Regions from separate parts of the Homo sapiens genome. Here regions 1 and 2 are each linked to region 3. The links are contacts of gene promoters, found by promoter capture Hi-C in human tissues and cell types (Jung and others, 2019). All regions are on one chromosome and are shown on one strand. The core of a region is centred on a gene start or on the middle of the fragment in contact, and the rest is flanking DNA. Distances in the headings are between cores, read along the strand shown.

Region 1 (2,967 bases), core at 280-2,779, 530 kb before region 3:
CTAATTTTTGTATTTTTAGTAGAGACTCGGTTTCACCATATTGGCCAGGCTGGTCTTGAACTCCTGACCTCAGGTGATCGACCCGTCTTGGTCTCCCAAAGTGCTGGGATTACAGGCATGAGCCACTATGCCTAGCCAGGTGTTGCTATGTTGACCAGGCTGGTCATGAACTCCTGATCTGAAGTGATCCTCCCATCTTGCACTCCCAAAGTGTTAGGATTACAGATGTGAGCCATCACGCCCAGTCCAGAACATAGATCTTTGAATAATTCTTCAAGTTTATTAACAGTGGACTTACTGGGTTAATAGGTGTAATTTCAATTTTAAAATTTTAAGAATTTTTGAATAGTTTTGTGTTCTTTTCTGTTTTCACAATGTTTAGTAATTCAGGTCATAATTTTCCTCACTATATCAAATAATTAATTGTGTACAGCTCCTCTTCACTGAAGCTTCCTGACCTTGTTTTAGTAATTTGGTTTGAACTGTTTAATCTCTCGAAGAGAATGGAAATTAGTAAGAAGCTGAAATCTTCTTCCTCGCATACTCTAGTTGTAGTCAGCAATTAACCTCCCCCAATTCTTTTCCTCCCTCTACTGGTGAAGCCCCATAGCTCTGATGCCTGTCACCCACCCTGATTAAGAACTTTATAAACAGCACATGAATAAAAATGTTTGGACTTGAACGTGACAAGTTTTGCATTTCACAAAAAGTGAATTTGACCTTCATTTTCACTTGTTAAATAAGGCTTAAATTCCACTTCAACAAACAAGCCTTGGTTTAATAAATGTGCATAGAATCTTAATACAGAGGTATTCATTTATCTCCCTTGTTCTCCCTTTTTCATCCAGCTCTGTTATTTTAACCCCTTTGTCCTTGAGTCTGTTTTTCTTTTTGTTTTGGTGCTTGTTTACTCTATTCCCAATAATGTGGGGCATGACGTTCATTTACAGTATCATAGCTCTGTTCCCTTCAGAGCTTTGTATCATGCTTTGTCTGCATTTCAGTGTTTCTTGTTTAATTTTGAAGGCCTATGAAAATACGCCAGATCTTGTTGGAGAGAACAGGAACTTTTCCCAGGAATTTTTTCATAGAGGTGGTTTCTTTTTTAATCCCTGCCTCTTATCCTTGTTTTATACCCCATACTTTCTGCCTACTAGAAGAGCCATGAGGGAAACAAGTGACCCCTTTATCTACCAACAGACACCTCCAGTGCGGCAAGTTCCATTTATTGCTGGTTGTGATGGTTTCGAGCCAGCCTGGGACATTGGCACACACTGAATTTGTGTGCTGAAACCACTTTACAGTTCACAGTTGACCTATTTTTTTTAAAGCAAGTCTGCTTAATTTATCTGTGATGAAACACAAATTGGAATTGATTGTGTAAATTCCCTCTTCTCTTAAATCTGAATTCCTTAGTCCACAGCTTGACTTTGAGTGATTGACCTCCAATCCCTCCTTTGATTTTCTTTTTTTTTTCTTTTTGAGACAAGGTCTCTCGCTGTCTGTCACTCAGGCTGGAGTACAGTGGCACCATCATGGCTCACTGCAGCCTTGACTTCCCGGGCTCAGAGGATTCTCCTATCTCAGCCTCCCAAGTGGCCGGGGCTACAGGCACGCATCACGATGCCTGGCTAATTTTTTTTTTTTTTTTTTTTGAGACGGAGTCTCGCTCTATCACCCTGGCTGGAGTGCAGTGGCGCTATCTCGGCTCACTGCCAGCTCCGCCTCCCGGGTTCATGCCATTTTCCTGCCTCAGCCTCCCGAGTAGCTGGGACTACACGTGCCCACCACCACGCCTGGCTAATTTTTTGTATTTTTAGTAGAGACGGGGTTTCACCATGTTAGCCAGGATGGTGTTGATCTCCTGACCTCGTGATCCGCCCGCCTTGGCCTCCCAAAGTGCTGGGATTACAGGCATGAGCCACCGCACCCGGCCTCACCTGGCTAATTTTTTTGTATTTTTGGTAGAGACAAGATTTCACCATGTTACCCAGGCTGGTCTCAAACTCCTGGGATCAGGTGATCCGCCTGCCTAAGCCTCCCAGAGTGCTGGGATTACAGGCATGAGCCACCACACCTGGCCCCTTCCCGTGATCTTTATGACTGTCTTCCTTTAAAAGGATATTGTAGTTTTAAGACAGTTCATTTTAAGTTCATGTTTTTCGTGGCACTTAGCCAACACTTTCACTGATTTCTTAAAATTCTTGAAATGTTCACCTTTACACACATTTAAAGTAATGTGTATTCATTGCGAACATTGAGTAATGTAGATAATTATAATGAAGAAAATTTAAATCACCTTCAGTCCCACTCAGATACATTAAAAAAATTACATATTTATATTCAGTCTTTTTCTTTTTTTTCTTTTCTTTTCTTTTTTTTTTTTTTTTTTTTTTTTTGTGATGGAGTTTCGCTCTTGTTGCCCAGGCTGGAGTGCAATGGTGCTATGATCTTGGCTCACCGCAACCTCCGCCTCCTGGGTTCAAGTGATTCTCCTGCCTCAGCCTCCCGAGTAGCTGGGATTACAGGCATGCACCACCACACCTGGCTAATTTTGTATTTTTAGTAGAGACAGGGTTTCTCCATGTTGGTCATGCTGGTCTCGAACTCCTGACCTCAGGTGATCCGCCTGCCTCAGCCTCCCAAAGTGCTGGGATTACAGGCGTGAGCCACCGCACCCAGCTGTATTCAGTCTTTCTCTGTGCATGTGTTGTGTGTATGATCATTATCATCCTTTTTTTCACTTAACATGAAATTATGGCTGAACATTTTCCCATGTCATGAAATATTATTTGAAAGCATCGTTATCAATGGTTACATAATATTTCAGTCTGTGGCTATTTCATAGTTTGTTAGAACATTTCCTTGATACTGGATATTTAAGTTTCTGGCATTCTTACTTTTGTGACACTGTGAATACCATCTTTGTTTATGAAGTTTTTTGTTTGTTCATTTGTTTTTTGTTTT
Region 2 (2,799 bases), core at 4-2,503, 590 kb before region 3:
TAGGCACAGGAAATCAGGTTTTACACATATTTGAACTTGGATAACTGAAGCTTACCCATAAACATTTAAGATCTTTATATTTTCACCTTTTTGTTTGTTTGGAGACAAGGTCTCGCTGTGGAATGCAGTAGTATGATCACAGCTCACTGCAGCCTTTACTTCCTGGGCTTAAGTGATCTTCTTGCCTCAGCCTCCCGAGTAGCTGGGACTACAAGCATGAACCATCATGCCCGGCTAATTTTTAAAATTCGTTTGTACAGACGGGGTTCTCATGTTGGCCAGGCTGGTCTCGAACTCCTGACATGAAGTGATCTTCCCACCTTGGCCTCCCAAAGTGCTGGGATCACAGGTGTGAGCCCTGGCGCCCTGCCTTAGCTTTTCCGTCATGTCTTGTTTTGGCTTCAGGATCCTGTATGACATCGAGTCCCCTTGTTTCCTCAGGCTCCTTTTGGCCGTGACAGTTTCTCAGACTTCCCTGTTTTTGATGACTTTGACAATGTTGAGGGATACTGGTCAGGTATTTTGTAGAACATCATGAGATTTATCTGATGTTTTTCTCCTAATTAGACTGAGGTTACGGGTTTTGTTCAGAGGAGGACCACAGAAGTAAAGTGCCATTTCTATCATGTCATATCAAGGGCACGTACTGGATATACTGTCATCAGGACTTTTCTTTGGGTCCCACCTATTGCCCGGGCTGGTCTCAAACTCCTGGGCTCAAGCAGTGCTCCCACCTCAGCCTCCCAAAGTGCTGGGATTCCAGGCGTGAGCCACTGTGCACAGCCAGGACTTTCCACTGCTGAAGTTGACCTTGATCACCTGGCTGGGCAGTGTTTCCAGGTTCCTCTGCTGTGACGTTGCTCTTTCTCCTCCTCCCACGCTGTGCTCTTTGGCAGGAAGTCACTATGCATAGCCCACACCTGGGGGTAGGGACGTATTCACCACCTGCTTGAGGGTGCAGTATCTACATAAATTATTTGGAATTATTCTGCGTGGGAGATTTGTTCCCTCCCTCCCATTTGTTAATTTTTTTTTTTTTTGAGATGGAGTTTCACTCTTGTTGCCCAGGCTGGAGTGCAGTGGGGTGATCTCTGCCCACTGCAACCTCTGCCTCCTGGGTTCAAGTGATTCTCCTGTCTCAGCTTCCCAAGTAGCTGGGATTACAGGTGCCTGCCACCACACCCAGCTAATTGTTGTATTTTTATTTGTTTTTTTTTAATTTTTGTTTTGGCCAGGCGCAGTGGCTCATGCCTGTAATCCCAGCACTCTAGGAGGCCGAGGCAGGTGGATCACCTGAGGTCAAGAGTTTGAGACCAGCATGGCCAACATAGTGAAACCCCATCTCTACTAAAAATACAAAAAATTAGCTGGGGGTGGTGGCAGGTGCCTGCAATCCCAGCTACTTGGGAGGCTGAGGCGGGAGAATCACTTTCGGAGGTTGCAGTTAGCCGAGATCAAGCCACTGCACTCCAGTCTGGGCCACAGAGTGAGACTCCGTGTCAAAAAAAAGAAAAAAAGAAAAAGAAAAGTGGTTTGGGAATAAGTTCTCATTCTATGTTCAAAACCAAAAGTTGATTTTATAGGGTATTATTATTTTTCCTATTTTCCTCTATCCGTTATAGAGAATGGTTTCCAGACCTGGTCTGTGTCTTTCATAACTTTGACCTTCTGGGGGTTTCATGCACCGTTCTTCCTAAGCTGGGCTAACATTTCACTGTGGTCTGTGTTTGCTGTGGGAAGAAGCCACCGATGTTGAAATGTAAGGGCCTGCTGTTTATGCACTGTTCATTCAGGGCTGCACGTGCCTATGTGACTTGAATTCTTTATTGATGGCTGAGCTGCAGGATTGAGCATGACTTCTTGCCTGGGGTCAAGGCTCCAGAATTTTCCTTAGTCTCCTGTTATCAGCTTTTCTTAGAATCAGGTGGCACCAGGGAGCTGCTGCAGGACTCACAGGAAAGAGCAGAGGATTGGGTGTTAAAACTTGGTGTCGGCTGGGCGCGGTGGCTCACGCCTGGAATCCCAACACTTTGGGAGGCTGAGGTGGGCGGATCACAAGGTCAGGAGATCGAGACCATCCTGGCTAACACAGTGAAACCCCAGCTCTGCTAAAAGTACCAAAAAAATTAGCCAGGCACAGTGGCGGGCGCCTGTAGTCCCAGCTACTTGGGAGGCTGAGGCAGGAGAATGGCATGAACCCGGGAGGCGGAGGTTGCAGTGAGCGGAGATCGCGCCACTGCACTCCAGCCTGGGTGACAAAGCGAGACTCTGTCTCAAAAAAAACAAAAACAAAAACAAAAACAAAAAAACTTGGTGTCAGAAGGCATGGTATCGAGTTCTGGCCTCATCCTTCCTCAGCTCAACCTTAAGCAATTTCCCAGCTGTGAAACGGAAATGACAAGTCCTGCCTCTTGGGGTTGGGCCAAATAAAATATCAAACCTTAAAAGATTTGGGAAACTACTTAAGTAAAGTCCTTTAAAAATTAACGTTAGCTGAATTTAGTGCTTGCCACTTCCAATGTAATTGGAGGGTGGTTGGAAGGACCAAGTAAAGGAATTAAGATATTTGACAATTTATATATCTTTTCTTATTTCCCCTTTTTCATATTTATGTATGTAAAGTCAACTATACTTAGGAGTTCAAAATTTGGTCTTTATAGACCTATGCTACTTAAATCTGAAATCCTAGTTACTTCACCCATTAATTTTCTTTATCCAACCCTTATATATCTCCAAGTAGGTGCTTCACAAATACTAACTCACTTAATCCTCTTCACCAAGCTGTGAAAGTAAGCCCGC
Region 3 (2,907 bases), core at 290-2,789:
ACCCCGTCTCAAAAAAATAAAAAACAAAAAAAACCCCAAAAGACCCACAAACAAACCCCATAGGCAAGCACAATTTTCATAAAATCATTAATAGTTTTCCAAAGCAAAACAGTAAATACCTAAACAACTAAAATTGAGGGTTATAAAAGACACCACAAAAAAAAAACCTCACATAGGGAAACATTTTAGAAGATTCTAGGCTTTATCACTCTCGGTTTTTCTACCTGAAGTTAAAAGCTGTGTATAAAATACAAAGTCAATATTTGATGACAGTTACCTCTGATTCTACTGTGTCTTGTCCTTCTTTTGAACTTTTTCCACTCTTCCCTGCTTTTGGTGATTCCTGGTAAACATCAAGCAAAGTCAATTAGTCTTCTCACTTTTTAGACAGGTAAACATCAGATAAGCCAAATGCAGTTTTAAAAGTGATTTATACAACTACAGCTTCTGATATTTTTAATTCATACCATTAGGAAATTCTATATCATACCGTTTAGGATTCCAACAGTGCAATGCCCCCCAACCCCCATTCAGATTCTTTTCGTTTTATCTGCATTTGAGGTTGAAAACTTCAAGCAGAAAACAGATAAATCCAATTTTATACAGTGCTTCTGGCATTTTGAGATCCACATCACATCCCTTTCTACCCTCCCACCCTAAACCCTATGAGTGAGGATTTCTGGGGTGATAATGAAACGCTACAGAGCTCCACCTGAAGCAGAAACATACCCGCCCCCCCGAATGCAAACGCAGCACCCTTGCTCGCAGCCCTCACCGCCGCCGCCACCCAGGATAATAATAGTGTTCGAGAGCCCCAGAGCGTCCCTCCGGGGCGGCAGAGAATTCCTTACCAGCTCTCAGCGGGGTCCCTTCTCGCTCCCTTTCCCCCGTACAGGGGTCCCTCCCCAGGCGTCTACAGCCCCCATCCCTGAAGCTCCTTTCCGGGAGCCTGCGAGGCTGCGAACCCCCTCGGCGGCCGCACCTGCCCGCCCAAGCCCACGGCGCGCTGTCGGAAACGGGCGCCCCTCCGACCCCCTCCCCGGGCCGCGCCCTCCCTCCACGCCCAGCCCCGGCCCATCACGAAGGTCCCAGCGGCCCGGGCCTGCGCCCCGCGGCTCCGGCGCGATCCCCGGGCTCCCCGCCCCCACCGGGCATGAGGCCGAGAGAAGCCCGGGGATGCCTGGCTCGGCCGCCCTCGGGGACGCGAAGCCCGCGGCGTCAGGCGGGGAACTGAGCCGGGGCCCGGGCGCAGGACCCCGGTGCCGTCGCGCCCTCCCCCGGCAGTCCCTCCCTGCTCCCTCCGTCCCGCGGCCGGGCCCGGACTCACTTTCTCCTTCTTGTTTTTATTCGGCATGGCTGGAGCGGGCCGCCGCCGCCGCCGCCGCCCCTGCCGCCGCCTGCCCCCGCAGCAGCAGCGCCCCCGCCCCGGCCGTCGCGCCCCCGCGGCCGCCGCCGCCGCCGCCGCCCGGGGACTGAGTCTTTCGCTTGCTCTCGCTTCCCCTTTTCCAGACTCCCAGAGGCTGCGGCAGCCACGGCGGCGGCGGCGGCGGCGGCGGCGGCAGCGGCGGCGTCTCTCCGCCCCTCCCCCGGCCGGCCCGCCCCGCCCCTCTCCTCCCACCCCCCGGCCGGCCGCCCCGCCCCGCCCGCCGCTCGCCCCACCCCCGCGCCCGGCCCCGCCCCGCTGCACTCAACAGCGCCCTGCCATTGGTCGACGCGCCCCCACGTACCCTAACGCTCCCCGCTCCCCCCACCCTCTCCGCGCGACCCGTTCACGCCCCCGCCCTCCGTCCCGAGTCGCTGCGAGCCGGCCTCAGGCAGGCCGCGGCCTCCTGGCGCGGGGCTGACCGCTGAGCAGAGCTGAGCCGACTCAGGGGAGGGAGCATGTGGCTGCGACTGCGGTGACAGGGCCGTGGCCCGCTGTGGAGGCGCAAGACAGAGCGTGAGACGTAGGAAATGCACATTTGAAATGTATGGCAACAACTTCTGCAGCCGGCGAAACGCGAACCGTGGCCTCTTGGCCTTGCCCCCTCACCGCCGCGGCTCTCGTTGCAGTCAAGAGTGCCTGGCACGCTTTGCACTGAGGCGCACGGGGAGGCCCGGGAACCGAGCGAGCGGCAGTTTCGCGGGACACCGCTGGGCCCCGCCTCCCCTCCCTTCCCTCCCCTCCCCTTCCCTCCTCTCCCTCCACTCCCCTCCCCTCCGTCCCCTCCCCTCGACCACCCCGTCCCCTGCCCTCCCCTTCTCTCGACCAGCCCGTCCCCTGCCCTCCCCTCCCCTCCCCTCGACCAGCCCGTCCCCTCCCCTCCTCTTCCCTCGGCCAGCCCCTCCCCTCGGCCAGCCCTTCCCCTCGACCAACCCCTCTCCTCGACCGGCCCCTCCCCTCGACCGGCCCCTCCCCTTGGCCGGGCCCTCCCCTTGACCGGCCCCTCCCCTCGACCGGCCCCTCCCCTCGGCCGGCCCCTTCCCTCGGCCAGCCCCTCCCCTCGACCAGCCCCTCCCCTCGACCAGCCCCTCCCCTCACCAGCTCAGCTTTCCGCAGCTCCTCCCGCGAGGTCCCGCCCATCCGACAGCCCGCCCCTCCCTGGTTGGTCCCGCCCTCCGCAGTTTCTCCCGCAAGGTCCCGCCTACCCGACAGTCCCGTCCTTTCCTGGTTGGTCCCGCCCTCCGCAGCTTTTGCCGCGAGGTCCCACCCACCCGACAGCCCCGCCCCTCTCCAGTCGGCCCCGCCCTCCGCAGCTCCTTCCGCGAGGTCACGCCCACATGCGCAGCCCCTCTCCTCCGGCGTCGGCCCCGCCCACCGAGGCGAGGCCTCAAAGACTTGGTGGCCGCTGCGCCAATAGGATTTTATTTTTATTCTTTAATTTGGCTTGATCATAAATGGTGAGGAAACCTCTGCATGACTGGGAG

The links. The method cuts DNA at HindIII sites, captures the fragments that hold promoters and counts their contacts. A contact is called where the count stands out against the background at its distance.
Region 1: a contact is called between a fragment that was not itself captured here and the fragment with the promoter of PPP2R5C in region 3, in 1 of the 25 tissues and cell types used here (hippocampus).
Region 2: a fragment that was not itself captured here is called in contact with the fragment with the promoter of PPP2R5C in region 3 in 1 of the 25 tissues and cell types used here (dorsolateral prefrontal cortex).

What each region holds. Positions count from the first base shown.
Region 1 is chr14:102,293,134-102,296,100 of GRCh38, reverse strand. The region is part of intron 1 of MOK (MOK protein kinase); the gene reads left to right. Among named protein-coding and RNA genes, the nearest start is that of MOK, 11 kb to the left of the region's middle. The HindIII fragment of the contact is 5,250 bases long and covers 1-2,967 here.
Region 2 is chr14:102,351,379-102,354,177 of GRCh38, reverse strand. All of the region lies in intron 3 of CINP (cyclin dependent kinase 2 interacting protein), which reads left to right. Among named protein-coding and RNA genes, the nearest start is that of CINP, 10 kb to the left of the region's middle. The HindIII fragment of the contact is 9,147 bases long and covers 1-2,799 here.
Region 3 is chr14:101,760,341-101,763,247 of GRCh38, reverse strand. PPP2R5C (protein phosphatase 2 regulatory subunit B'gamma) reads right to left here and starts at 1,539. Exons shown (of 16, transcript NM_001352913.2): 1 at 1,328-1,539; 2 at 278-343. The coding sequence starts at 1,354. RefSeq lists silencers at 904-973, 1,024-1,243, 1,384-1,623, 1,634-1,793, 2,254-2,303 and 2 more. The HindIII fragment of the contact is 18,209 bases long and covers 1-2,907 here.